Linked DNA regions of Homo sapiens: regions 1, 2, 3, 4, 5 and 6 are each linked to region 7. The links are contacts of gene promoters, found by promoter capture Hi-C in blood cells and fetal thymus (Javierre and others, 2016). All regions are on one chromosome and are shown on one strand. The core of a region is centred on a gene start or on the middle of the fragment in contact, and the rest is flanking DNA. Distances in the headings are between cores, read along the strand shown. Region 1 holds the start of TNFRSF10D (TNF receptor superfamily member 10d). Region 2 holds the start of RHOBTB2 (Rho related BTB domain containing 2). Region 3 overlaps RHOBTB2 (Rho related BTB domain containing 2). Region 4 has its middle 23 kb from the start of PEBP4. Region 5 overlaps TNFRSF10B (TNF receptor superfamily member 10b). Region 6 holds the start of TNFRSF10B (TNF receptor superfamily member 10b). Region 7 holds the start of BIN3 (bridging integrator 3).

Region 1 (3,770 bases), core at 1,184-3,683, 490 kb after region 7:
CTGTCTCATCTGGATCCCCCGGTCATCTACTCCCACTACCAAAACTCCCGTATCCTTGAAAATTCCTAATACCATTAAGGAATGAAAGTACATAACAATGTGATGAATCACCTTTTACTTCCTAGACTAGCAACGAATGAAAGCTAAGTGTAACAAGGGTGTAGGGATACAGGCACATGTGTGAACTAGGTGTGAGTGTAAGCTGAGTTCAATGGTCTTTTGGAAGAAAATTCGTAAACATCTAAAGAAACTTCTGAAATGATTTATCCCACGGAAGTAGAAGTAAAATTCTACTTCTAAGGAGTTGCCCAATAAGCTGGTGCGCATGGACATGTGGACACACGATACATACAAGGGTATTTAGTACAATGCTGTTGGAATTAGCAAAGGCAAATTTGCTTTGGGTTATATCCCATCGGGATGGGATATAACCAGCTGCCTCTAGATGGCAACAGTGAATTAACCTGTGGCTTACCCATGTAGTAAAATACAATACCCTTGTTTAAAAGAAAATCAATCTGAATGTACTGCCATAAAACATCTAATGTGATTTGTGCTAGCTCCAAAATTTTAAAAAGCAACTGTGCATTGAAATGCATTTAATAAGGCAAGATTGATGGAGGGATCAAAGCCTCCTTTGGGACGCATAGAGTTCACATTCCCAAAACTGTGAAATTCAGGTTGCTGGTCTTGTCTACACAGGTCATCCACACATTCTCTCTTCAGGGCCACTGTCCTGACACAGCCATTCTTCTAGCTGCCTCAGGTAGGTCCACCCACTATAAACTATTGTAGAAGTCAGTTGTGTAATTTTTGAGAGGTGAAAATGTCACTGCTGTTCTGAATTTAGTATTACTTCGTTGAAAGAAAACATGGAGACTCTCATGGTTCATGTAATCTTGTTTTATCCTCCCCGTTTTGTTTTTTGGTATTACGTAAGAAACCTTAGAAAGCACTGTTGGCAGAAACGTCAGTCACTCAGAAAAAGTCCTGGCAGTCTGCACATCTTATTTTTATGTCCTTCTTGTGCACCCCACTACCAATCTCAGTTTCCAAACCCAACTCACAACGAGAACTTTACATCTTTTATGCCTAAGGAAGGGGCCATCCCGCGGTCCTGCCTATGGGATACAGAGGGGACACACGGGTGGCAGTGGAAGACACTGACTGCAAGCACCTTGGTTAACCGCTTCCTGCCACTTTCAGGGTTCTATAGGAAATGAAAGTTACAAAAAACAGCGTTGGAAAGCTTTTTCACAGGCTGTTTGTTAAACTGATCTCCAAGAAACACGTGTAACAGTGTAAACATAGGGTTAATTTTGTTTGTTTGTTTGTCTGTTTTTGTTAAGGCAGAGTCTCGCTCTGTCGCCCAGGCTGGAGTGCAGTGGTGCAATCTCGGCTCACTGCAACCTCTGCCTCCCGGGTTCAAGCAGTTCTCCTGCCTCAGCCTCCTGAGTAGCTGGGACTACAGGCGCAGGCTGCCACGCCTGGCTAACTTTTTTTTTTTTTTTTTTTTTTTTTTTGAGACGGAGTCTCGCTCTTGTTGACCAGGCTGGAGTGCGATGGCGCGATCTCGGCTCACTGCAACCTCCGCCTCCCGGATTCAAGTGATTCTCCTTCTGCCTCAGCCTCCCGAGTAGCTGGGATTACAGGCGACCGCCATCACGTCCGGCTAATTTTTGTATTTTTAGTAGAGACGGGGTTTCACCATGGTGGCTAGGCTGGTCTCCAACTCCTGACCTCAGGTGATCCGCCCGCCTCGGCCTCCCAACGTGCTGGGATTACAGGCGTGAGCCACCGCGACCGGCCTGGGTTAACGTTATGAACGAACGAACGAACGAACGAACGAAAGAGGCAACCGCTCTGTGGCTTCCTGAGGTTCACTCCGGGGTTTCCATCTTGACTCCCTCCCTCCGCTGATTCTGGAACTTCCTCTGGGGCAGCTCAGTGCGGTCCTCGCCGCACGGGACAGCCAGGGGGAGCGCGCGCTCTGCTCCCTCGCGGCCCGGTCGCTCCTGCCCAGCCCGGGCACCCCACTCTTCCCCTGACTCCGACGGCGGGTTCGTCCTGCCCAGACATGCCCGGCCGCAGGCGACCCGGGCCAAGCATCCCCACCGTGTCCCCCTCTCTCCCTGCCCACTCCCGGCGCCAGGTGCGCTCTTCCCCAGCCAGGGACCGCGGCGGAGACTCACCGGCAGCAGAACCGCGACGATGAAGACGACGAACTTAAGGATCTTGGGGTCCAGGAGCCATGGTCTGGTTCCCGACGCTGTCCTGGCTCCTGGATAGCGCCCTGCTCGAGCGCTCGAGGCGGTCGGGACGCTTTGTCCCCAAAGTCCCATGAGAAGGGAGGAGGGTGGATCGAAAGCGCCAAAAATCAATCAGAAATCGTCCCCGTAGTTTGTGCGCGTGCAAAGGTTCTCGCAGCTACACTGCCAGAATAGAACGTGCTCCTCCGCTTTTATACCCCGGAAAAAAGGCGTGGTCAGTTGTACTCCCTTCCCGCAGTCACTTCCAGGCACTCAGGCTGGGTCTCCCCCAGCACCTCCAGGAGGGCCCAGGTTGTGTGGGTGGGTGCATGGACGGACAGGAACTGGCTCTTTCCGGCAGCGGTGACCCAGGGCCTGCGGTTTGATTCCGGGTCCTGTCCAGGCTGTAGGCAGCAGAAGGGGAAGGAGCTGAGGCGCTGCCCGCTGCGCTGCTGTAGTCTGGGTAGTGAGCTCCAGAGGAGGCACTGGAGGCCCATCCTGAGCCTGCTCCCTCCCCGGGCCGCCTGTCTCTCCTCTTCTTAAACCCTGAACTACTTCCTGGCCTCAGGACTTCAGTCCACTCTTAGCTTCTGCTCCCACTCCCTCCTCCCACAGCGGCCTCACTGACCAGTGCACTGATGCCACTGATGTCTCCAGCCTCCTTGCTGCTGTGACCCAGCTCCAAGCTTCTCTGGCAGGGGCTTGGTATCCCTCAGTAGCGGGTGCCTGGCACCAAGGAGGGGCCCAGTGAACACATGAGTGGACAGAATGAAGGACACAGAGGCCATGACAGGCACCTGCAGAGGCTGAGGAGTAGGTAGGAGGGAGAGGAACGCCGGGGGCATCCCTAGCCACAACCTGGCACCCTTTGCATGGTCAAAGCACAAACACTCCCTGACCAACCTTGAGGGCTCTAGTATTGAGGCCCCATGGAGACAGGGGAATCAGGGGAGTGCCTTCCAAAGTCTGTCCCCAAGTCTATTGTCTACCCAGGTCCAACTGTCTGACCTTGGGCTACTTACCTCCCCATCCAGTTGAACACACTGCCGCTGTGAGGGCAGACCCAATGTGTGGTTTTGAAGGGTGCCAGCTTGTGACCCTAAGCAGTAAGGTCAATGGCAGGACTCCTAGACCCTTGGGATGAGTCGGCTCCTGACCCCTCACATGGTAGATAGAAGAGGATAGCGCTATAGAAATGAAGGTTTTTTGGCTCATGAGAAACCTGGGAATGAAATGTCATCCTCTCCACAGGCTTGGATTTGAGCGATGGATCACCCTGAGCACCTTCCAGGGCCCAGACAATGACCTAGGGTCAGAAATGTGAGCCAGGGCCGGGCGCGGTTGCTCACGCTTGTAGTCCCAGCACTTTGAGAGGCTGAGGTGGGCGAATCAAGAGGTCAGGAGTTCGAGACCAGCCTGGCCAACATAGTTAAACCCCATCTCTACTAAAAATACAAAAATTAGCTGGGCGTGGTGGCGGGCACTTGTAATCCCAGCTACTCAGGAAGCTGAGGCAGGAGA
Region 2 (3,848 bases), core at 1-2,500, 330 kb after region 7:
TTTGCATTTTCAGAGCACAAGATGGAGGAGTGGTGGAGGCGGTTCAGGTGGGTGGCAGGCTGGTCTGGGCTTTAAAAATTGTCCAGAGGTAACTGAGGAGATGAATCAAACCAGACTGAGCTGACTACTTAACACTAGCAGTCAAGATCATCCTGGCTGGGCATGGTGGCTCACGCCTGTAATCCTAGTACTTTGGGAGGCCAAGGCAGGCAGATCACCCGAGGTCAGGAGTTCGAGACCAGCCTGGCCAAGGTGGTGAAACCCCGTCTCTACCAAAAATACATAAATTAGCTGGGAATAGTGGCGTGCACTTGTAGTCCCAGCTACTCGGGAGGCTGAGGCAGAACTGCTTGAACCCAAGAGGCGGAGGTTGCAGTGAACCAAGATTGCACCACTGCACTCCAGCCTGGGCAACAGAGGGAGACTCAAAAAAAAAAAAAAAAAAAAAAGATTATCCTGATAAAACCAGCCTTGAATATGGAAAGTGTCTTCTAGGGACCCCTCAGGTTATAGATGTTATACCTTAGAATCTCTCTATTTTACAGAGGGGTAAATTGAGGCAGAAAACCCAAAGAAGGCTTAGGGACGATTTTCGAGGCTACTCACTTCATGGTGTTTCTTTCAGAGATTAGCAGCTATTACTGAACTCCAGGAGGCAACAGGAGGGGGATGGGATGGAGGTGGGGACCCGCTGAAGAAGGCCTAGGTGGGAGACAGGTAACGTGGTACAGGTACCCACCCCACAACTCATTAAGGGCCATGGAGGGAGGAAGGCTCTCAAGTGCCACGAAAATTCCCAAAGCAGCAGAGGGCTTGTATGGAAACGCCGGTTATTCGTCCCTACCCGGCCCCCGCCCCCCGCCCCCCCGACTGCCCCTGCCGTCGCCTCCCCGTGGGCAAGTGGTGGGGGCCTGGGCTTACAACCACACGTTCTCCTCCAACTAGCATCCCTTCCAGGGTGCACTAGGATGCCTCTCAGAGGTTCTCCCCCGCCTCCCGAAGGAAAGGGGAAAACCCCGTGGGCGTCCGGAGAGCCTTTGCGCCTCGCCAGGTGGAGGGACCGGCGCCACCCAGACCCGCGAGCCGAGACCCTCCCCGCGGCGTCGCTGCGGGAGGGGCGGAAGAGCGCGGGCGGTGGGCGGGAGCGGTGCTGCGAGGCGGGATCTGCGGGGCGTCCAATCCCCTTCTTCCCCCGCCCGCCCCCTCCCCGCCCCCCGAACGCTTTCCACCAACTGCGCGCGGCAGTGGGCGGGGCCCGTCACGGCTGTCGTCTTGGGTGCGATTTTTTTCTCCTCCTTTTTTTACCCTCCCGTTTTTTTCTTTTCTTTTTTTTTTCCCTATCCTTTTTTTGTGAATGAAAAAAGGAGGTCGCGAGCGGTACCTGGGACTGCAGCGCCAGGCGTCTTCGCGGCAGCGCCTTCGCCGCGGGCCCGGGCGCGTAGCGGCGGCGGCCTCGCCCCTCTCCCGGCGCCCCTGCGCGCCGCCCGCTGCCTCCGCAGCCCGGCTCCGCGCGCCGCCGTGACATTGGGCGCCTGGCGCGCGGGGCGATGCTGATCCGGAAGGGGCAGCGGCTGCAGTGCAGCGCGCGCGTCCGCTCCTGGGCCCACGTCCGGCCTGGGCTGCCCTGCCGGAGTTTCTGAGTGGCCGCGAGCTGGCCGGGAGGCTGGAGCCCAGCAGCAGCGCGGCGGCGCCGGCGTCGTCCCAACTTGCAGGCGCGGAGGGACCCCTGACATTTCACTAAAATGAGCGTGCTCAGCAGGAAGAGATGTGTTCCTCACGCTAGAAGCCACCCCGTCACATGTAGTGGTGTAAGTAGATGGCTGCTTGCGGTTATGGCGGGGTGGCCAGCAGCCCTTGCAGACGCGCCGCTCCGCCCTCCCTGCCCTGCCGCGCCCCTCGCTACGTTCCCCGGGCCCCGCTAGTCCCTGGGCTCTGGCTTCGGCTGCTGGGTACAGCGGGGCTGGAGCCTAATCCTTTCCGGTGTTTCTAGGGAAAGGAAGATGACTTGATTGCTTCGGCCTGTCGTGCCCCTCCCCCTTCTCGATGTTTAAAAATTTTTAAATTTCTATTTTGTGTGTGTGCAGAGTAGCGTGTCAGAAAAAAGGAAAAACGGTCCAGAGTGGTGGGAGTGATTCTGTTAAGAAAACAAACACAAAACAACAGTGGAATTGGGGTGTTTTGCTGGCGGTTCCGGAGCTGGTTCTTTGAACTCAACTCCATTGCAGTCTATGTAACTGAGTTCTGTGAAACTACTGGGGAGATCTTTGGCGGTGTTTGGTGATGTGTCCACATTTTAGGTTTGAGGGGGCTTATCTGTGTTTAGGCTTGCATTTCTTTAATCTGACCATTCAGGGTCCCTTTGGGCCTTGCTTTCTGTTGGATCTGCACGGGGCTTCTTGCAATGCCAGCGACCCCCGTGGGAGCCTCCCCGAATTAGGAGTCCACTCTCTCTTTGTTCTTCTCCTTCCAATTCTCCATTCAATCCATCTCCCTTGATTTTACCTTCATTTTCAGGATTTTCCTCCCATTCCCATTTTGTAAGATGATGTGGGATACTGGTTGCTAGGAGACAAGCCAGGCTCCCAGGGAGATTCTGTTGTTTCCTTGACAACCAGACTAGGGCAGCCACAGATGAACAAGCCTCCTATCAGCTGTGGGAGGGAAAGGGGCCCTTTCTGAGCTCTGCAAAGAGTGTGTGTAGGGGTGTGGGGGTGGGACTGGGAGAGCACGAGGTTTGTAGCTAATTTCAGCACACCTTGGGTTTTGGCTTGCACCAAGTACAAAGAGCTGGGAGAGCGGTGGGCAGGAGGCTGTTTTTGGAGGGGCACAGGGATCATGGGACAGGGATGGAAGGAACACATGCCAGTGACTTTGCGATTGTCATGGAAGAGGAGTGAGTTGGGGGTTGTGATGCCCAGGGCTGGGTGGTGAGGAGGTCATAGTTTATGGAGGTTGATTGAGTGGGGATGAGGCAATTGTGAGGGAGAGTCTGGAGTCAGGGAAGAAGAGAGAGCCGGAGGGAGAGGGGAAGCTGAGAGGCTCACTGAATGGGCTGTATCACCATATATCAGCAATGAGTGGGCTGTATCACCATACATCAGCAATGATACAACATCAGCAACATCCTAGGGCAAAAATTATATTACTCTTGGCACACTCTCTCCAGGACAGGATCCTCCTTTAAGACAGGCCTGATTAGACTAAGAGTTCTAACACTTGAATTGGGCCAGTCTGTATCTTAAAGACAGATATAATTACACATATAGATATGCAATCTAGCATTATATAATACCACATTACATAAGAAGACAAATACCTCCTTTCAGCCCAGCCTCTCTTGGCACAAATTAACCACGGTTCAGGAGACTCTTCCAATGTCTTCATACCCATTTCCCAGAGGGGGAGACTGATGCCCAGAAAATATAAGTGACTTGCCTCTTCCTAGATAGGACAGTGAAGTTTGCCAGTCAGGCAGTTGGGACAGGGTAGAAAGGGTGAGATGATACAAACAGAGAGGCAGCTGAAGGACAAGGGGACTGCTGAAGGGGCTGGGGAATGGATGGAAGGGGTTGCGCAACCCAGAAGGTCTGATGTCTAAACTCATGGCACAGTATTTGTCAATTTCCACTTGTTGATTGGCTGACCACTGCTTAACTCTAGAGGTGACATAGCACAGGTGGGCAGCAGTGTTTTCATCACAAAGTAGCTGAACTTGGCCCAGCACTGCTCTGCTGGTGTTCTGGCATTATTCTCACTGTCAAGGTGCTCCTGAATTTGAGAACTGGCATCCCTCCATTAGGCCTCCTCATTCCCCCGCTTCTGTCTACAGACCTACATGCTGGGAGAAT
Region 3 (3,886 bases), core at 119-2,618, 350 kb after region 7:
CCCTACCCCGTTGAGCTCTTGCTGTCATCCCTGGGGTCCCCCTGGTGGCAGCAGACGTCATAGCCTGGGGCCTTTCCTGGCCTGTCCGGACCTGCCCGGGCCCTGGTTTTCCTCACCCTGAAGTGAGCTGGGGGATGTGGTGGGGCAGGGTGAGCACAGGTCATGTGCTTCTTCAGCTGATTGGTGGCCGTGTGTGTTACAGAGCAGTACACAGTGACCGGGCTGATGGAAGCGACCCAGATGATGGTGGACATCGATGGGGACGTCCTTGTGTTCCTGGAACTGGCTCAGGTATCATGGCAGGGGAGGGAATCTACAACAGTCTCAGTTCTACACTCTGCCTGCCCATTGGCTGCGAATGGGAAGGGGTGGAAGATGGTCTATGCGGGAGAACCTGTCATCGGACTGGGCTCTTTGACTGCGCGTAGCCCATCTCCTCCTCCATGCCAGGAAGCAGCTGGGGAACTCCCTGGTGTACCCGGAGGGGAGCTGACCAAGTGGGGAAGGGATGAGGCTTTAGGCAGCAGTAGGGCTGGGGAGGGAACCCCAGGCTCAGGCTTACACATGGTTGCTGCCTGCCTGAGGTCATTTAAGGGGCACTGAGGACTTTCCATCTGAAATTAACCGCCTACTCCCTTAATCCCAAACAAACAAGCCAAATCTCCCACAGTGGCCTTCACAGTGCCAGAAATTCAGCCACCAAAGATTAGTGTGTGGAGTGGAAGCACGGCTCAGGCAGGGCTTGCAGACACCCCTGGGAAGGCAGCTCCCTTAGCTCATTGTCAGTGCCTCCGTGCAGGCTGCCTTGATCCCAGATGTGGAGGAGAGAGAAGTCAGGTAGGTTGAGATCTGAGGAGGGCAGATGCAGTATGAAGCCACTACATAGGGCTCTGGTGTCTGCAGCGAGGATGCCAGGAGTGGGCAGAACAGAGGTGAGATGATGGTGGTGCTGGCGGTGGTGCCAAGGAGCCTGAGGCAGCATCATCATCCTCAGTTTTGTGTGGCCTTGCCTCTGGCGCAGGCTCTCTAGAACTGCAGGGCCTCTGCGTGCCCTGCACCAGAGCTTCAGCTCTGAAGGCAGCTGGAGGTGTCTATGCAGACCCTCTCCCCTGGGGATTTCAGTACAGACGTTCTTCCCTTCTGTCCCCAGTTCCACTGTGCGTACCAGCTGGCCGACTGGTGTCTCCACCACATCTGCACCAACTACAACAACGTGTGCCGCAAGTTCCCCCGAGACATGAAGGCCATGTCCCCAGGTGAGCATCGGGGCCAGTCCTGGCAGTACCTGCTGCCCTCCCCTTAGGGGTGCACAGCTCCCATGTAATCCCAGGGACCCCGAGGCTGCCAGTAATCCTTGACCTTGGGGCTGGGAGCAGCCTGCAAAGGAGCCTCCAGCCAAGCCAAGGGGCCCCAGGAAAAGTGCTGGCCTGGAGGGCAACTCACCCTGCCTCTCTGGGCTTCTCATTCTCAGAGGTATGAAGAGGATACTGGACTAAAGTTGGTAGATTTCAGACTTTTCTGGACAGAATACCGTAAGAAATACATTTCATCTTGTGACCCAGGACACATATAGGAAAATATATACATCTTTCTAATGCTGCTCATGGCCCACTAAATTGATGGTACAACCCAGGAATGGGTACAGGCCACAGCTTGGACCACCCAGGTCTGGGCATCCTCTGAGGCCTCCTGTCTCTTCTTGATTAATTTCTTAGGCCCTAGAACTCAACAGAAACTGCACAGGCTCCAGGGAGAGGTGTCCCTGGCCTCCCTGAAGGGTCTGCCACTCTTTCCATGGGGTCCTCTCTGGGCTCCCTCCAGTCTGCCGTGACCCTCCTCCCTGCTGCCGTGTTTTTGCCTCATGCTGCCAAGTCTCCACCCCGATCTCTCCTTTTCACTACTACAACACTTTTAAAAAAAAATTATTTATTTATTTATTTTTTTGAGACAGTCTTGCTCTGTTGCCCAGGCTGGAGTACAGTGGCACAATCTCGGCTCACTGCAACCTCCACCTCCTGGGTTCAAGTGATTCTCATGCCTCAGCCTCCCGGGTAGCTGGGATTACAGGTACCCACCACCATGCCTGGCTAATTTTTTGTATTTTAGTAGAGACGGGGTTTCACCACGTTGCCCAGGCTGGTCTCAAACTCCTGACCTCAGGCAATTTGCCTGCCTCGGCCTCCCAAAGTGCTAGGATTATAGGCATGAGCCACTGCACCCAGGCTAGCATTTTCTTTCTAAAGCACAGGTCCAATAGCATCACTCCCTGCTTCCAGACCTTCCACTGAAACAGTAGTCTTCCATGGCCCCCCATACCCTGCAGAATAAGGCCAGCCGTTCCTCTGGTCTGCTGCTGTGTCCTGCTGTGTCCTGACTCCGTATTCCCCCTCGGAACCTTAGCTCTGGCCAGAAACTTCCACTCTCATCCCCTAACCATGCTGAGTATCTCCTGGCTGACATTCGCTTACCCCTTCTCCCTTATCCTTCGCCTCTGTTTCATTCCCAACGCACAGGAAGCCCTTGTCTAGATCGCCCGTCTTTGGAAAGGAACCCAGCTGGAAAGGCCTTCCCCAGTGCTGACTTTCAGCCCTGCTCTTTGGGAACTTTGCTTGCCTCGGAGGCTCATGTGCCGTGGGTCATGGGGATGTGCTGGGGGCTGGGCTGGAGGCCTGCTGCAGGCCTTGTGGTGGGGTAGGGCTGGTGTCCCACGTTCCTCTTGTCCCTCTGCCTCCTTTCTAACCAAGCTGCCTGCTCTCTGCTCCAGAAAACCAGGAGTATTTCGAGAAGCATCGGTGGCCACCTGTGTGGTACCTGAAGGAGGAAGATCATTACCAGCGGGCACGGAAGGAGCGTGAGAAGGAGGACTACCTCCACCTCAAGCGGCAGCCCAAACGGCGTTGGCTCTTCTGGAACAGTCCATCCTCCCCGTCTTCCTCGGCAGCCTCCTCCTCATCCCCATCTTCCTCCTCGGCTGTGGTCTGAGATGCTGCCACCCTCTTCTGACCCTGCTGCTGTTGTCCCCATCCGCCTTCACCCCTCTGCTCTTCCGCATCACCCCATCCACCTTACAGGGACCAGGGGGCCCACGTAACCAGGACCCAGAGGGTGGAGCTCTTCTTACCAGCCACCGTGGCTCAGCCAGAGAGGAGCTGAGCCCTGTGGAGCAGAACGGGAACCACCTGCAGAGGTCCCCAGACCCAAAGCAGGACGGGAGACAACTGCTTGGAGGAGCGAAGAGCCCTGGCATTTTATCTCTGGGTTTGAGAGCCCTAGAGTCAAAGGGAAAGCCTCCCAGCCTCCAGGGCTTCTCTGTGTGTCTTGGTTGCTGCTCTGGCCAGGGAGGCAGCCCCACTCCCAGCAAGCAGAAGTGATCCTCGAGGGTCCTGCCCCTGTTGGCCATATCTTTCCACCGACGGACTTGAGTGTTGCATTTGTTTTGTGGGCATTTCCACACGAAGCCTACTCACACCCTCACTGGAGAAGTCAGGGTAGAAATTGAGCCTTCAGAGCCCAACTCAAGGCTTCTACATCCTGGGGTGCAGCTGCAAAAGGCCAGACGTGGAAAGGCCTGTATCCTGCCAGTGTCCCTCCGTCCCAGGGGGCTGTGCTAGCACAGACCTGAGAATGGGGACACAGGTCATTCAGAGCTCCAGGCCTGGAAGCAGTGCCTCTTGGTGCAACAAGAAACTTCTCCCTCACCCCCTCCTTTACCCTCAGATTTGGAGATGGTAACCAAAGGAAGCAGCTGGGACAGGTGGAGAAGGAAGTAGGAATGAGTGCACGGCGACCCCGTGCTCCTCAGGGCCCTCCCCTGCCTCTGGGTGGCACTGCTTTTTATAGGGTGGGGCAAAATTAGCAAAAAACAAAAACCAATGACAACCAAACT
Region 4 (3,924 bases), core at 315-2,814, 280 kb after region 7:
TCTGAAATGAGTGGCCTTGGGGGGACTTCCTAAGCTGGTTGGCTAGGGAGTAATAACATTTCTGAACAATCAGGCTGTCCCCAGTGCCCTGTCTCTGGGCCTCCTCTAGCTCCCTCCCCTTCTGTCTGGGGCCTGCCTTGGGAATGCTCTCTACCCCCGTTACCCGGCTACCAAATCCCACGCCACCTAAAATGCCCAGCTCTGGCCCGGTGCCTTCTTCAAGCTTTCCTAATGGTCGCCTGGGCCAGCATCACTCAGGCTGAGACATCATTATAGACATCCCCCCGCTTACAATGATTTGATTTATGATTTTTCAATTTTATGATGGTGCAAAGGCAACATGCGTTCAACAGAAACCATACTTCAAATTGTGAATTTCGATCTTTTCCTGGGCTAGCAGTATGTGGTAGGATACTGCCCCGTGATGCTGGGCAGTGCAGAGAGTGCAGCTCCCATTCAGCCAGACGATCACGTGGGTGAACAACCTGATACCACATGCTGCTGTGTCCTGCATCCAGTAAGTTACATGAGAGAGTCAACACTTTGTTATAAAATGGGCTTCGTGCCAGATGATTCTGCCCAGCTGTAGGCTGATGTAGGTGTTCTGAGCACATTTAAGGTAGGCTAGGCTAAGCTGCGATGCTCAGTTGGTTAGGGGTATTAGGTGCATTTTCGACTTATAATAGTTTCCATTTATGATGGGCTTATCAGGATGTAACCCCTTCATAGGTCAAGGGGCATCTGCACTTGACTTTCTACCTGTGCAGATCTTGCCTTCTCAAGTAGGTCATATATTTCTTGATGGCAGCTTCTCTGTCTTGGTATTGGTAGGGGTCCTTGGGAAAACTTTTTTTGAGGGGCTTGGGCCTCCCAAGAAAATATCACTTGACAACGAGACCTTCTTCCTTTGGTCACCAGGTTTCCTACTAAATTAATAGAGTCCACAGGCCTTCAATTATAAACAGATGATGCCATGGCTTCACCCACTGGGTCCCTTGGAGGAAGGTGTTTCTGGAGGACCCACCAGAACCCTCCCAGTTGCTCATGTTGGAAGCATGGGGCTGCTGGAAGAATGCCAGCCCCTCTCAGCCAACGGAGACCATGTGCCCCTATCTGCAATGGTGAAGACTGGAGCTCTTCACTCTCTTCAGGGTTGAGCTCCTCCAGTTTCTCCCCACCCCTATCTAAGACAGGCAGCAACACTGCAACTTGCTGTTGGCCCACTCTATCTAGTGAAAATATTATCTCTCTTAAGTTGTATCATTTAATGATACTGAAGTGGCGTCATTGTCTGGGGTAAATACCTGAGGTTTGTTGTCTCAGCCAAGAAGGTTAAGGACACAGACACACACCAGGAGAGAACTTAGGAGTGGAAGATTAATAGGCAAAAGAAAGAGAAAAGAGAACAGCTCTCTCTCTCTTGCAAGAGAGACAGGGGTCTCAACGGGAATTCTGGCCTGTGCCTGAGTGCACTGGATATTATAGACTGGCTTGAGGAGGTGGTGCCTGATTTACATGGGGCCCACAGATTGGTTGGACCAGTTGTGAAATTTACATAACACGCAGGGTAGGCTAGCTACCCCATTCTAATCTTATTATGCAAAGGGCTTTCCACTTGGTCTGTGCTGTGTTGTCTGCTTCTTACTGTACACGTGGAAGTAAGGAGTGGCAAAGAGAAGGGAACACGGAGCCGCCATTTGGAACATGCCTAGCTCCAGGTAGCCTTTTCCTATTGGCACAACTGCCGGCATTCACCGCTGCAAGTTTCTAGCTTACTTGTCTATGTCTGCAGCTCTATTTTATAGGCTGCTCTTTGTTAGAAAAGAAAATGATTTGGGGGCTGTTTTTCATTAGAAGAAAAACCTTACCAAGGACTTCCTTACCCTTACTATCTGCCCAAATAATTTCCTCTTAACTGATATCAGTACTGTAACATAGCCTATCCTATCATGATGTAACTGAGCAACCCCATTTTTCTAAGACAAAAAGGTTTAAAAATTTTTTTTTCCTTTCTTTTTTCTTTCCTCCTTTTCCCCGTTTCCCACTTTCTACTTAGCTCTTTTTTTTTTTTTTTTTTTTTTTTTGAAATGGAGTCTCACTCTGTCACCCAGGCTGGAGTGCAGTGGCGCGATCTCAGCTCACTGCAACCTTCTTCTCCCGGGTTCAAGCGATTCTCCAACTTCAGCCTCCTGAGTGTCACGCGCATCCATGTAAAGAGTCCACCAAGCAGGCTTTGTGTGAGCAACAAGGCTGTTTATTTCACCTGGGTGCAGGCGGGCTGAATCCGAAAAGAGAGTCAGCAAAGGGTGGTGGGATTATCATTAGTTCTTATAGGTTTTGGGATAGGCGGTGGAGTTAGGAGCAATGTTTTGGGGGCAGGGGTTGGATCTCACAAAATACGTTTTCAAGGGTGGGGAGAATTATAAAGAACCTTCTTAACAGTGGGGGAGATTACAAAGAAACTCCTTAAGGGTTGAGGAGATTACAAAATACATTGATCCGTTAGGGTGGGGCAGAAACAAATCACAATGGTGGAATGTCATCGGTTAAGGCTATTTTCACTTCTTTTGTGGATCTTCAGTTGCTTCAGGCCATCTGGATGTATACGTGCAGGTCACAGGGGATATGATGTCTTAGCTTGGGCTCAGAGGCCTGACACCGAGTAGCTAGGATTACAGGTGTGCGCCACCAAGCCTGGCTAATTTTTGTGTTTTTAGTAGAGACAGGGTTTTACCATGTTGGCCAAGTTGGTCTCAAACTTTTGACCTCAAGAGATCCGCCTGCCTCGGCCTCCCAAAGTGCTGGGATTACAGGAGCGAGCCACCATGGTTAAAGAGCCTCTACTTAGCTCTTTAGAAATGTAATTACAACCTTTACCTTCCCTTCACCAGGCATTCCCTACAGGGCAAGCTTATCTAACTACGTGCTTACTTAGAACCTCCATAGCCAGAACGCTGACCCACTGGGAGAGACAACAGTCAATTTGCCACCTAAAGTATGCCCTTGACCCAACTCTGTCCCACCTGGCGAGTATCTTGAAACAATGGCCATTGTACAACCTAGTTCTGCTTGTGGTGGCACCAGCTGAACCACCTGGTAGATAAGGCACCAAAGTGAGTCATGCAGACCCCCACCTGCTCGCTCCCTCCTCTGCATGCCATGCATGCATGCCAAGTCCCCCTTTAAAATCCCCTGATTTCTGCCCCAAAAGTAAAGCAGTACCCTTAAAGGCAGGAGTCTGTACTTCTTCCCCAAAGCTAAGTCTTGGAATAAAGGCACTTTCTTTATACTGTTACCAGCAGTGAATCCATAATGGTCTGCAGCAACCTCAATTCTTGCCTCCTTAGAAGAAGGAATTTACCTGAAGGATATAAGGCAGAGTGACAGAGGAAGGCAAGTTTTACAGCAGGAGTGAAAGTGTATTCCAAAGCTTTTGAGGCCGGGTGTGGTGGCTCATGCTTGTAATCCCAGCACTTTGGGAGGCCGAAGGCAGGTGGATCACCTGAGGTCAGGAGTTCCAGACCAGCCTGACCAATGTGGTGAAAGCCCATCTCTATTAAATATGAAAAATTAGCCGGGCATAGTGGCGCATGCCTGCAATCCCAGCTACATGGGAGGCTGAGGCAGGAGAATTGCTTGAACTCGGGAGGCGGAGATTGCAGTGAGCCGAGATTGCACCATTGCACTCCAGCCTGGGCAACAAGAGTGAAACTCCTGTTCAAAAAAAAAAGTTTCAAGCGGGAACAAAAGGAAGTAAAGTGCACTTGGAAGAGCACCAAGTGGGCTACTTGAGAGATCAAGTGCTTGGTATGGCCTTTGACTTGGGGTCTTATACATTGGCATGCTTCTGGGGAATTGCATCCCTTCTCCCCTGATTTTTCCCCTGGGGTGGGCTGTCCACCTGCGCAGTGGCCTGCCAGCACT
Region 5 (3,934 bases), core at 226-2,725, 370 kb after region 7:
TTAAAAGGCAGAGAGTGGCAGAATGAGTAAAAACAAACGCAAAAAATAGACCATAATCACCTATATGCTAGCCACAAGATTCCTGAATTATTTTTATTAATATTGAAAGACATTCTAAAAAATCCAAATTACACAAACCTTACTTAATAATGTAAGTATCATACATAATCATAGTGATTCATGTCACTGATAAAAACGTGATTATTTAATAATAGTGTTGGGGCAACCAAAAAGGTGGCTGTCAAATAATAATGTGTCTTCCTCACTCTCCTCTTACTACAAAATGAAGTCCATGTGGCTCAATGACTTAATTACAAAATAGGAAACCACAAAATGACTGCAAAGATATATGATAATTTTTTTTTTGTTGTTTTTTTTTTTTGAGACAGGGTCTCACTCTGTCACCCAGGCTGAAGTGCAATGGCGTGATCTCAGCTCACTGCAACCTCTGCCTCCCGGGTTCAAGCGATTCTCCTGCCTCAGCCTCCCAAGTAGCTGGGACTACAGGCACGCCACTATACCCAGCTAATGTTTGTATTTTTAGTAGAAACAGGGTTTCGCCATGTTGGTCAGGCTGGTGTCAAACTCCTGGCCTCAAGTGATTTGCCCACCTTGGCCTCTCGAAGTGCTGGGATTACAGGTGTGAGTCACTGCGCCCGGCGTTATATGGGAATTTTTATTAGAATTTTGGACCCAGCGCAGTGGCTCACGCCTGTAATCCCAACACTTTGGAAGGCCGAGGTGAGAGGATCGCTTGAGCCCAAGTGGTTGAGGCTACAGTGAGCTATGATCCTGCCACCGCACTCCAGCCTGGGCAACAGAGTGAAATCCTATCTCAATCAGTCAATCAATCAATCAATCAATGTATAATTTCCCTAATCTGTAAGAATTCATGTGACTCAATGATTTAAAAAAAAAAAAAAAAAAAACCTAACCTCTTACTAGGAGTGAAGAAAACCTAGGAGAACCAGTGTACAAACAGTGTCTGTGTCATGAACAGATTCTTGACCTCATTCACAGGAAGAGAAATGCACATTTCGAGGAGTTTCCACATCTCAGTCCTTGACACTTGCTATGGCCTGCTCCCTGTGGCTGGAAGGGCCATCTCTCCTCTAGGATGGAAGTTCTCCAACTGCTCCTGCTCAGCCCATTGCAGTCCTGTCTCCCTGGCCTATCGTCTCCAACTTCAAATCCTCATGGGCTCAGTTGTGCCCCTCCTCAGTATTTACAACTTCTTCCAGGTGGACACACTCAAGACAGCGGCTTCAAGCATCACCTATGTGCTAGGGTCCCCAAATGTGTACTGCTAGCCCTGCCACACACTGTCCCCTCAGAGGCCAAGTTACCCTGAGCAGTTGAATTTGGTGCCTCGATTGTCCTCATTCCCCACACGTCATCCATCCACACCCCAAATATGTCTTGAGTCCTTCCTATTCCCGTCCTGCTTCCTGGTCTTGACCCTGGACCACAGCAATAGGAGCATTTACAGATGAGTTTGTGTCTGCTTCACGCTGGGTTCTTCCTTCTCCATGCTCTGCTCCTGGCAAGCCCACATGTGCAATGTGAGGGTTTGCCCTCAGGCAAGCCTTTCCTGTGGCCCTTAGTCATGGAAAAGAAATGCAACTTTGTAAATGGATTTTAAAAGCCACTGCTTGCCACACTTGCCTGCCCTGGAAACCTTCATGCAGCAATCAATTCCTAACTCATACACATGGGGGAAAAGGGGGAAGAAGTGCGAGGCGAACACAACAGTCAAGCACACTTCAGGCCAGGTTCCTGCTGCATCTCTGGGGGCTCAAATGACCTTACGGGACACCACATAACATCCCAGGGGAGCGCCTCACACTCAAGGCCCTCCACCTGCTTCCTGTCTTGCTCCGGTTCAGTCCAGGAGTGGGCACTCAAGATGTACATCCGATGCTGGTGGCCCTCTGCTGAAAACTTCTCAGGGACATCCATCACTCATGAAATAAAATCCAGCTTCATCTGTGTGGGATCTGACCCCACGTGTCTCTCTAACTTCCTAACCCTCCACTCCCCACAGCAGCCCCCTGCTGTTGCTCCATCTTCTCCAACTCTTGCCCCCTGGCAATTGTTCCAGTGGAACCCTCCTAGGAGCACTCTTCCTGGCTCTCTGAACCTCTGGCCCTGCCCTCCTCCGGATGTCAGCCCAAAGTCACCATTGCCTGGAGGCCTCACCAGCCCCATCTCTGTCCCACTCAATTCTCTCTCAAGGTTCCTATCAGTTTCTTTGGCTGTCTCATTCATTTGTGTGTCTTGATACCATCCTAGCAGGAAGGCTCCAGAAGGACAGAGCCTTGAACTGGAGGCACCCAATGCCTCTCTGTGGAATAAAGAACAAGGAAGTGCAAAGGAAACAGACTGGAAGCTCATGGAGACAAGGGGAGGAGGGGCAAGGATTAGAGACCCATCTTGAACATACCAGGTGGACACAATCCCTCTGAGGGGCTGGACCTCTTTTGTTGTGGGGCCGCTCTCTGCTGGGGAGCTAGGTCTTGTTGGGTGATCAGAGCAGACTCAGCTGAGACCTGTGGGGACAAAGCAGGGATGGGCATGAGTGGCTTCCAGACCTCACCCCTCCCAGGATCCACTCACATTCTCTTGAGCCCAGGCACCCAAGCTAAACAGAACCCTCATCTTTCTTGCAGCTCTCACCTCTCAAACATCCTTTAGTGTTTGTTTGTCCCTTCATATTTCAGGGAAGGCCAAGTAACATACACCTGCAAAACTCTTCTAAACATGTTCATTCCAGAAAATGTGGGCAAGGAAAGTTTTTACAAGAATACACAGACCACACGTGATATTCTCAGCTAAAGATAGCATCCATTAATATTTTGTCTCATTTAGTTCCACTATTTTTCCATAGGTATGCCTATTCTCTCTTTCTCTCTTTCTCTTATTCTCTCTCACACAGACATACACACAGACACACATTTTTATAAATGGGGGTTATAATATAGCAAACTTAAAAAATTGGGATACAGGATCAAACATTAAATAGTGAACTTCTGATTTAAAAGGTGCCTGACATATAGACCAGAGAGCCCAGAAATGAACTTGCACGTACAACCATGTATTGCTCAACATTGTTCTGAGCAAAGGGTCATTAGGCAATTGTGTTGTGTGAACATCAGAAGAGTGTACTTACACAAACCTAGATGGTGTATCCTATGACACACCTGGCCTATATGGTATAGCCTTTTGCTCCTAGGCTACAAACCTGTGTAGCATGTTACATAATTGCATGGAGCCACCATCACATATGCAGTCTGTTGTTGACAGAAATGTTGTTATGTGGTGCATGACTGTATATGATCAAGTAATTTTTGGCAAAGGTATAAAGACCATTTAATTGAGAGGACAATCTTTTTAAAAATGGTCTTGGGAAATCTAGACATTGACTCATCACAAAACAATGACCTCGGACCTTTAACTTACACGTATACAAAAATTAACTCAAAATGGATCCAAAATCTAACATAAAAGTGAAAACCCTAAAACTTAGAAGAAAACATAGGAACTATTCTTCCTGACCTTGGATTTGGCAATGATTTCTTGAATGTGATCCCCAAAACACAAGCAATATAGGAAAAAAAGTAGATAAATTGCACTATGTAAAAATTAAAAACTTTTGTGCATCCAATGATGATCAACAGTGAAGGGGCAACCCACAGGAAGAGGAAAACATTTGCTAGTTGTATATCTGATAAAAGGTTAATATCTAAAATATATAAAAAACTCCAACTCAACAACAACAACAAAAAGCCAACAATGTGATTAAGAAATGAACAAAGAACTTGAATGGTAACAAGCTCCTGAATAGCCAATGTGTCAAAGAGGAAATCAAAAGGGAATTTTAAGAGTATATTAGAAAATGAAATGGAAACATAACATAACCAAATGTATGGGATGC
Region 6 (4,378 bases), core at 771-3,270, 400 kb after region 7:
TCTTGTCTCCCAGGCTGGAGTGCAGTGGCGCCATCTCTGCTCACTGCAACTTCTGCCTCCCAGGTTCAAGTGATTCTCCTGCCTCAACCTCCCAAGTAGCTGGGATTGCAGGTGCCCACCACCACACCCAGCTAATTTTGTATTTTTAGTAGAGACGGGGTTTCACCATGTTGGTCAGGCTGGTCTCGAATCCCTGACCTCATGTGATCTGCCCGCCTCGGCCTCCCAAAGTGCTGGGATTACAGGCATGAGCTACCAGACCCGGCTGTTGTGGCTTTCTTTACAGAAAAGTCTCCAAGGAGAACATAAACTCTAAAACCCCAAATCCAAGAAATTCAACACAACCCAGTTGTGGCTTTCTTTACAGAAAAATCTTCCAAGTAGAAAGAACATGAAAGTCTAAAGCCAAAAATCCAAAAAATTCTTTATAGAGATAAAAAAAAAACCCCACAACAGAGCAAACAAACCAAATCACTGCAAACCAGTGCTAAGAAAAATCTTTAAAAGCAGCCAGAGACCAAAGATCCACCACCCAAAGAGAGGCAAGATGCCCTGGGGACCTAGGCCCACAGAAACCACAGCAGGAGGGGGAGGCAGAGGCCCCTGTACACTCTCCTCACTAGGACAGTTAGGTCCTCCCTCCACTCAGAGGTGAGACCAAGGACATACTGTGGTGTGGGGCGGAAACAGTGAAAACATGAGGTGTGTAACAATATCCCATGAAACTCCAATGCTTCACACTGACATTCTTCTAGGTCAACACCAGCATTCTCTTGACCTTCCTTTCACTGTTCCTCCTCTCCCTTCCAGCCCCTCTGTACAGTCTTGAGTTAGGTCTAGGCCCACACACTTCCCCACTCTGAGCTGCGGTCTCTTCCTCTGTAAAATGTGATGATTCAGAACCTCTCCTGGCCCCAAGCGCAGTTCCAGGCGCTGAGCACACCATGCTGTTCCCTACAAAGCCGACTCTTTGTCCCTTCCCCATTATCACGGATACTTGCCAAGAGGTGGCAAGAAAGGCTCTTCCCAGGCCAAAATGCAGCTGCTATTATCAAGCAGGTCAGGCCCCAAGTGCCACAACTCCCTTCTCCTAAATCTCGTTTTCCCAAGGAACCCCAAACAATGGCATTGGCGATGAGCGGCCCCGCACGCGTAGGGGCGCAGCCGCTAAGGAGGGGAAGGGGCCTCTCCAGCTGCGCCCGCGACGACTCCCGCGCACGGAACGGAACCACTGGGCCGCAGCGACCACAGGGGAGTTCTTCGCCGGCCGCAGGTTCAAAGCGATCTGCAATGAGCGCCTTTAGGAATTCATTCGAAGGCGCAAAAGAAAAAGAAATTAAGGCAGGAACTGAGCGAGGAAGGAAGGGAGGGAAAGAAAGGAAGAAAGAGAAAAAGAGAAAGAAACAGAAAGTAAGGAAAGAAAACAAAATCAAAGTCCGACGACCTCTCCGTGGCTTCACGCAGCTTACTCGGGAATTCCCTCCTTGTCGCCCTCCCCCACTGGATTCGGGAATTTACACCAAGTGGAGCGCGCGCTCTGTTCCCTGGCGGCCCAGGTCGCTCCTGCCCAACCCGGGGACCCATCTCTTCCCCCGACTCCGACGACTGGTGCGTCTTGCCCGGACATGCCCGGCCGCAGGCGACCCGGGCCACGCACCCCCGCCGTGTCCCCCTCTCTCCCTGCCCTCTCCAGGCGCCAGGCACGCTCTTCCCCAGCCAGGGACCGCGGCGGGGACTCACCAACAGCAGGACCGCGGCGACAACGAGCACAAGGGTCTTGGGGACCCGGGGCCCAGGCCTGGCTCCCCGCGCCTCCCTGGGTCCTGGGCCGTGCCTTTTCCGGGCCCCCGAAGCGGCCGGGGCGTTCTGTCCCCGTTGTTCCATGGCGGTAGGGAACGCTCTTATAGTCTCTCAGGCCCGTGGGTTTCAGCCCTTAAAGTAGATCGGGCATCGTCGGTGTATTTTGTGGGCGCAGAGATTGCGGGGTTCTCCGGCCGCGTGCTGATTTATGTGTCCAGGCTGACTTGGGGCGGCGCGGCTGTACTTTCACTGCCTCCGGGCAGGCGTCATTCGGGGCGGGGCGAATCAGATCCAATGTGCAACTGCAAATTCCACCACAGGTTGGTGACAATAAATAAGAGTCTCGTCAACGCAATCCTCCGCAAGCGCGTCCAAGTGGGGAGGGGAGGGGAAGGGACCGGAACTAACCTTCGCCCTGGCGGCTGCGCCCCGGGCTGTGGTTTGTTTCTGGGTCCTGTCCGCGCCAGGACAGGCACCGAAACTTGGGGGAAATGAGTTGAGGGAGGCACTTGGGGAGTTGACGCCTCCCGGGGTCGCGCGCTTGGCTGTGAACAGGGTCTTGAGGTTCAGAGTCCGCTTTCCAGGCGCGTCTTGATCTTCTCCCCTTCCCAGGGGCACCTGCCCCTTCTGTTCTCTCCTTCTCTCTTCTTTCCTTTTTTCTTTCGTTTTCTTTCGTTCTTTCGTCTTCTTTCCGTCCTTCCTGCTTTCTCTTTCCTTCCTTTCTCTCTTTCTCTTTCCTCCCTCCCTCCCCCTCCCCCTACCTCCCTTCCTTGTGGTTTATTTTTTGAGACAGTCTCTCTGTGGCTCAGATTGGTGAGCGGTGGTGTGATCCCGGCTCACTGCAACTTCCGTCTCCCAGGTTCAAGCGATACTCCCACCTCAGCCTCCCATGTAGCTGGGACTACAGGCCTGCACCACCACGCCTGGCTAATTTTTGTATTTTTAGTAGACACAGGGGTTCACTATGTTGGCCAAAAGACCATCGAACCCAGCTTACACTCACACCTAGTCCACAAATGTGCCTGTGTCCCTGCACCCTTGCTACACTTAGCTTTCATTTGTCACTAGTCTAGGAAATAAAACATGATACATCACATTGTTATGTATTTTCATTCCTTCATGGTACTGTGTCCGGAATTGGTGGGTTCTTGGTCTCACTGCCTTCAAGAATGAAGCCTCGGACCCTCGCGGTGAGTGTTACAGTTCTTAAAGGCGGCGTGTCTGGAGTTTGTTCCTTCTGATGTTCGGATGTGTTCGGAGTTTCTTCCTTCTGGTGGGTTCGTGGTCTCACTGGCTCAGGAGTGAAGCTGCAGACCTTCCCAGTGAGTGTTACAGCTCTTAAGGCAGTGGGTCTGGAGTTGTTCTTTCCTCCTGGTGGGCTCGTGGTCTCGCTGGCTTCAAGAGTGAAGCTGCAGACCTTCAAGGTGAGTGTTACAGCTCATAAAGGCAGTGTGGACCCAAAGAGTGAGCAGTAGCAAGATTTATTGCAGAGGGAAAGAAGGAAGCTTCCACAGTGTTACCACTGCTGGCTCTGGCAGCCTGCTTTTATTCTCTTATCTGGCCCCACCCACACCCTGCTGATTGGTAGAGCGGAGTGGTCTGTTTTGACAGGGCGCTGATTGGTGGTTTACAATCCCTGAGCTAGACACAAATGTTCTCCACTTCCCCACCAGATTAGCTAGATACAGAGTGTGGACACAAAGGTTCTCCAAGGCCCCACCAGACTAGCTAGATACAGAGTGTCAATTGGTGCATTCACAAACCCTGAGCTAGACACACGGTGCTGATTGGTGTGTTTACAAAACTTGAGCTAGATACACAGTGCCAATTGGTGTATTTACAATCCCTTAGCTAAACATAAAGGTTCTCCACGTCCCCACCAGACTCAGGAGCCCAGGTGTCGTCACCCAGTGGATCCCGCACCGGGGTTGCAGGTGGAGCTGCCTGCCAGTCCCGCGCCGTGCTCCCGCGCCGTGCGCCCGCACTCCTCAGCCCTTGGGTGGTCGATGGGACTGGGCGCCCTGGAGCAGGGGGAGGTGCTCGTCGGGGAGGCTCCGGCTGCACAGGAGCCCACGGAGGGGGTGAGAGGCTCAGGCATGGCGGTCCCGAGCCCTGCCCGTCGGGAAGGCAGCTAAGGCCCGGCGAGAAATCAAGCGCAGCGCCAGTGGGCCGGCACTGCTGGGGGACCCAGTACACCCTCCGCAGCCGCTGGCCCGGGTGCTAAACCCCTCATTGCCCGGGGCCGGCAGGGCCGGCCGGCTGCTCCGAGTGCAGGGCCCGCCGAGCCCACGCCCACCCGGAACTCCAGCTGGCCCGCAAGTGCCGCGCGCGCAGCCCCGGTTCCCGCTCGCGCCTCTCCCTCCACACCTCCGTGCAAGCTGAGGGAGCGGGCTCCAGCCTTGGCCAGCCCAGAAAAGGGCTCCCACAGTGCAGCGGTGGGCTGAAGGGCTCCTCAAGTGCCGCCAAAGTGGGAGCCCAGGCAGAGGAGGCGCCGAGAGCGAGCGAGGGCTGTTGAGGACTGCCAGCAAGCTGTCACCTCTCAGTACTACGGATTTTCAAGAATACAGGAGTTTTTGGT
Region 7 (4,330 bases), core at 178-2,677:
GCAAATGGTGGAGGGAAAAGCAGAAGCTCCTGCCGGGGCTTATTAGGACATTGCTTCAGGCTTTCCTCCCGTGCTTGCGGTGATTGTCTGACATTTGTCCATCAATCTTGGTCTAAGAAACAGGTGGGGGAGGGGACAGATGGTTCGCATTTTACTTTAGAGAAGTATCCCTGACACTGACTGATATCAGCTGCTTGCGTTCTCCACTGATGGCCAAAATTAAGCTTCAAAAGCCTTCCTGAAGGACATTCTGTTATCTTAATTCATTCATAACTGGTTATCATGCGCTTTGCATAAACAAACACACTAGCCTCTGAGGACAGAGTGGCAAATATGTTCCCTATGTCCATGGGCTGATTAATCTTGTACATCTCTGGGGCTCAATTTATTCACACACTATAGTTGAATCCCCTGAGGTCCAGGGTTGTGGCTATATAGGTCCTTGGGCCTGACGGTAAGGTAAGGTGCTGCATATGAGTATTCTCTAACCTCTAAGAAAGCCCCAGGAAGGCAGGCAAGTCACAATTCTCTCCTGTGAACATAAATAATCGAGAGCAACAAATGGGGATTGCCTTTTGGGCAAACTGAGTCTTACAAAATAAATACACCATTATGAAGTGTCTACTATGACCCAAGTATCACATCATACTGCAGCAACTGGAATTGTGACTCTATTACTCTAAGACTCCCTGGCTTCTTTTCTCATGGCATGATAGTTCCCATAAGTTTAAACTTAACCATGCCTATTTAGAGGGCAGGCAGTGAGTAATAGCTCTGGAATGATTAAAACCAGTCCAATCCCACAGTGGAAGGGTGTGTGCGGAGTGTAATTCTGGCCCCTTTAAAAAGAGAAGCAAGTTTTCCTTGTCTTTTGAAGCCTGCTAAGTCGTGCAAAGAGGATAGTTACCCAGAAGGGAGTGGGTTTTGATTAGTGAACTGGGTCCAGGCTGCCACAGCGAGGGCCACAGCTCTGGAGGGACTGGCGCGGGGCAGAGATGCCCACAGGAGAGAAAGACGACACTGACTCCACCTCAATGGGTGTTTAAAAAAGGAGGGAACAAGGAAGTCCCTCACTTCAAGGAGCTAGGAGGACGCGAGTCCGGCAAAACGGGTCAGACGCGGAGTCCCAGGCTAAGAGGATCATCCGCCACTCTCCCCGGGAGTCCTGCTGAGAGACTGCGACTCCGGAAAGCACCGAGGGAACGACCCTAGGGCAGGGGCTGTCGGGCCTTGCTCTGGGGCGGAGGGGTCGCGCGGGACCGGAGGGAGCCGGGACGCGGCACTGACACAGGGCCAGGGGCCTCGCGGGTCCGCGGGTCCAGCAGCTCCCGCCGCCTGGGCCTCACTCACCAGCTCATGGTCCCGAACCTGCGTCTGCCGCCGGGGTCCTCAGCCACAACTCGTTTCTCTAGGGTCACTTCCGGATTCAACCAGTCTCCAGGAAGTGACGTAAGCCCGCCTCTCTGCCCGGAAGAGGCGGTTGGGAGGCGGAGCCCGGCGCGTTAACCCTTCTGCTGCTGCGTGCTCGCCGCGGAGTTTCCCTTGCCGGCGACTCTCTGGCTCTGGCCAAGCGCTTAGACACACAGGCTGCAACGGGGGATGAGGGGAACCTCTGGGGGCGTTTTCTGCCTTCAACACTGACTCCTAAAGATCTCTTCACCTGACCATGCAGGGCCCTTAGCCGGGCTGTCCCCTCTGTCAAGTGGTTTCTAATCCAGAGACAGTGGCAGCAATTGTCTGTGGGAGAAGAAGCCATTTGGGATGGAGAAAGTGGAAAACTTACATTCTCTGAATGCTCTTTCCTATCTTTTACAGTTTGTACACCACACATGCATTACCTGTTACAAACAAACGGACGTTTCCCTTCCAAGATGGCACAGGGCTCTGAATATCAATAGATAGGTGCTTTTCAGGTTGGAATGTTTCCTAGAGTTATTCAACACAATAAGACGCAGAGTATGAGTTGTTCCCTGCCTTTCAGCCCTTCCCTTTGGTCTCCTCTACAGGACTCAAATGATGTAAATTGCCCCATTCGTTCTATTCCTTCATTTAACTAATACTAGTTGCACTAATATTAGTGTCAGGTACCGAGCCAACCTTAGGATACAGCTATCTCAGAGAAGTATCTGCCCTGCTCTTGTTCCTTCCCAGAGCTACTTTCCTGGAGGGAGAGACAAGCAGGCAATTATAATCATGCTATAGGATAGGATAGAATGAGGTGTGGTGGCAGCCTAGAAGGGGACCCTGAAGTAGCACATGGGGTTTTGGGGAAGGCTTCCAGGAGGAGCCAGTGTGTAAGCCAAGCCCTGAAGGCAGAATCGGGGCTAGCCAGGTGAATCTGAGATGAGGGGTGACGAGGCTCCAGGCAGAGGGAACTTACCATGGCTAAGACACAGACAGGACCAAGCAAGCAGCTGACTTGCCTCGGGTCTCCCAAAGTCAGAATTCAGGGCCTTAGTGGCTCACAAGTTGCCTGGGATTCTGGGCCGACTTGGTTTCCTCACCGCTAAGTACCTCCCTGCCTTGGAAGAGAGACAAGAAGGCAGTGAGGCCCGTGCAGGTGCTGCTGGGCCCCCAGTGACCTTCTCTCTAGGAATTCTCCTTCCTCAGATGGACCGGGATTGTTTCAGGGACTGCTTAGGGGGTTGCTAATCAATGACCTAGCGGGAAAAATATGACCAATGACCTAGAGCAGAAGTAGTGTATGATTTGTTTTGACCTCCTAGGGTGGAGTAGAGGGCTTGAGCAGGAGAGGTAGGAGGGTGGGCCACAGGATGCAGTCTCTCATTTGTGTTTTCTGTTTCCATTCTTGAGAGTCCATAGTTTGACTCAATTGACGTTTCCAATGGAGGTTGGATCCCCAAGCACATCATGCAGATCAGCTTCATTACCATGTTGTTCCTCAGGAAACAGGCCAAAATGAGCACAAGAGCAGCCTTGAAGAGTAAAGAGGAAGAGCAGAAGTCACCAAAGGGTAGCCTGGGCAGAGAGTGTGGGTAAAGGGAAAGAGAGAGTCCTTGCTGCTTTGCAGAGAGTGTGACGGATGGAAGGGCTGTTGTGGGTTTAGGAGCCTCCTGGCAGTTAGCACCTGTGAATAGTTTTCCCACCTGCTTCCTCCCTTCCCCATGTTCTGCCTCCCTCAGTTATGCCCCACAGGGATAAATATTTCCAAACGTTTTAGCCTAGGTAACTGCTATATCCTAGTAGAAGTCTGTTTCAGGGCTGGAGGGCAGCAGACACATCCTAGAGGACTAGAATGGATAAGTTCTGGACTACAAGTCTGGAGGAGTCTGCGGCTCTATTTCCAGTTCAACCTTTGACACTATAACTGACCTCAGATAAGTCACATCCCCTTTGTGGCCTTAGTCCCCTCATCTATAAGATGGAGTGGGTAGATCACATCCCAAAGTATCCAACATTGCAAGGTTCCAAGTCAGCTGTCTTGTTGACTCTAGAGGCCCTAGGGAAATAGGAGAATGGGAAAGGCAGGTGAACAGAGGGGCAAGCCCAGAGAAGTGGGCAGGTCTGAGGAACTGGTGATATCTTGGATAAAGCTAAATATGAATTTTTCTGGGGCTGTGCTGTTGACAGGTCACCTCGAAATCTTTAATGCAGCCAGCAGGATCTTTGAGGTTACTAAAAAGAATGGTGTCCTCCCAGGAGTCTGTCTGGAATGTGCCTGCTTGGTCTCCTTACCTGTGGCTCATTCGCTCAGCTAGAGGGGCACTGGGCTGAGGAGGGACAGTCAGGCATCCTGCTATCCTGTGTTCCTCCATGAGCCTGCTGTGCCATGAGGCATTGATCCCTGGGGAGCTGAACATGGAGACACACAAACACTTCCCACTGTTGTGAAAAACTCAGCCTGCAGGGTCGGGAGCTATGTCTTTCTTATTTATAACCAAAGGGACAGCATGATACAGATTGATCCTGCCCCTGCAGGGAAGGAATGGAAAAGAGAAAATTGGGTTTCTAAGTAGAAGCTGAGAGTGGAGGCGCTTTGGGTAGAGGTGGATACTCCTGGTTTCAAGCCTTGTAAATACTGATTCTTCCCCAGAAGTCTGAGCCTGAAGGTAAAAGACTGTTCAGGTGGCAGAGGTCTACTTCTGGGACAAAGCTGTTTACGAGGGGAAAAGCAGCAGCAGAACCTGCTCCACCATCAGCCCCCAACTTTTCCTTGGAGGTTTTTGCTCAGAAGTTGGTAAGCAGGTGCTTCCCACTGACTCTCATCTCTGGGATTGTCATGTCCTGTCTCTCCCAGCCTTTCCCACACAGAAGTCTAGGGCTGGCCCCCGAGTCTTTCACCATGCCAACCTCTTATTAGTGAAGAGTG

What was found. Contacts are between HindIII fragments. The CHiCAGO score rates a contact against its expected background, and 5 or more counts as called.
Region 1: a contact is called between the fragment with the promoter of TNFRSF10D here and the fragment with the promoter of BIN3 in region 7, in 2 of 17 cell types (naive CD8 T cells and fetal thymus). The highest score is 7.9, in naive CD8 T cells.
Region 2: the fragment with the promoter of RHOBTB2 here is called in contact with the fragment with the promoter of BIN3 in region 7 in 4 of 17 cell types (fetal thymus, M2 macrophages, M0 macrophages and 1 more); the score reaches 8.7 in fetal thymus.
Region 3: a fragment that was not itself captured here is called in contact with the fragment with the promoter of BIN3 in region 7 in 9 of 17 cell types (naive B cells, total B cells, M1 macrophages and 6 more); the score reaches 7.4 in naive B cells.
Region 4: a contact is called between a fragment that was not itself captured here and the fragment with the promoter of BIN3 in region 7, in 1 of 17 cell types (M1 macrophages). The highest score is 5.6, in M1 macrophages.
Region 5: a contact is called between a fragment that was not itself captured here and the fragment with the promoter of BIN3 in region 7, in 1 of 17 cell types (M2 macrophages). The highest score is 5.0, in M2 macrophages.
Region 6: a contact is called between the fragment with the promoter of TNFRSF10B here and the fragment with the promoter of BIN3 in region 7, in 13 of 17 cell types (neutrophils, monocytes, total B cells and 10 more). The highest score is 18.2, in neutrophils.

The regions. Positions count from the first base shown.
Region 1 is chr8:23,161,594-23,165,363 of GRCh38, forward strand. It overlaps TNFRSF10D (TNF receptor superfamily member 10d), which reads right to left and starts at 2,434. Exons shown (of 9, transcript NM_003840.5): 1 at 2,193-2,434. The coding sequence starts at 2,342. RefSeq lists an enhancer at 2,172-2,291. The HindIII fragment of the contact is 1,686 bases long and covers 1,248-2,933 here.
Region 2 is chr8:22,998,298-23,002,145 of GRCh38, forward strand. It overlaps RHOBTB2 (Rho related BTB domain containing 2), which reads left to right and starts at 1,251. Exons shown (of 10, transcript NM_015178.3): 1 at 1,251-1,808. RHOBTB2-AS1 (RHOBTB2 antisense RNA 1) reads right to left here and starts at 1,508. Exons shown (of 2, transcript XR_007060857.1): 1 at 1,382-1,508. RefSeq lists silencers at 931-1,190, 1,411-1,580, 1,911-1,960. The HindIII fragment of the contact is 10,673 bases long and covers 1-3,848 here.
Region 3 is chr8:23,014,488-23,018,373 of GRCh38, forward strand. RHOBTB2 (Rho related BTB domain containing 2) reads left to right here. Exons shown (of 10, transcript NM_015178.3): 8 at 203-291; 9 at 1,151-1,256; 10 at 2,765-3,886. The coding sequence ends at 2,982. Among named protein-coding and RNA genes, the nearest start is that of RHOBTB2-AS1, 17 kb to the left of the region's middle. RefSeq lists enhancers at 1-604, 106-155, 3,781-3,886. The HindIII fragment of the contact is 9,071 bases long and covers 1-3,886 here.
Region 4 is chr8:22,949,186-22,953,109 of GRCh38, forward strand. It overlaps a transcript of RHOBTB2 not described here. Among named protein-coding and RNA genes, the nearest start is that of PEBP4, 23 kb to the left of the region's middle. RefSeq lists enhancers at 2,947-3,578, 3,579-3,924. The HindIII fragment of the contact is 2,687 bases long and covers 222-2,908 here.
Region 5 is chr8:23,040,695-23,044,628 of GRCh38, forward strand. TNFRSF10B (TNF receptor superfamily member 10b) reads right to left here. Exons shown (of 9, transcript NM_003842.5): 2 at 2,444-2,549. Among named protein-coding and RNA genes, the nearest start is that of TNFRSF10B, 26 kb to the right of the region's middle. The HindIII fragment of the contact is 7,583 bases long and covers 1-3,934 here.
Region 6 is chr8:23,067,011-23,071,388 of GRCh38, forward strand. It overlaps TNFRSF10B (TNF receptor superfamily member 10b), which reads right to left and starts at 2,021. Exons shown (of 9, transcript NM_003842.5): 1 at 1,741-2,021. The coding sequence starts at 1,884. It also overlaps the pseudogene TNFRSF10B-AS1. RefSeq lists promoters at 1-3,113, 1,881-2,551, enhancers at 1,405-1,664, 2,205-2,254, 2,275-2,444, 3,226-3,520, 3,842-4,341 and a cis regulatory region at 2,006-2,011. The HindIII fragment of the contact is 4,380 bases long and covers 1-3,303 here.
Region 7 is chr8:22,667,694-22,672,023 of GRCh38, forward strand. It overlaps BIN3 (bridging integrator 3), which reads right to left and starts at 1,428. Exons shown (of 9, transcript NM_018688.6): 1 at 1,351-1,428. The coding sequence starts at 1,358. RefSeq lists a silencer at 1,128-1,287 and enhancers at 1,151-1,780, 1,538-1,597. The HindIII fragment of the contact is 6,679 bases long and covers 223-4,330 here.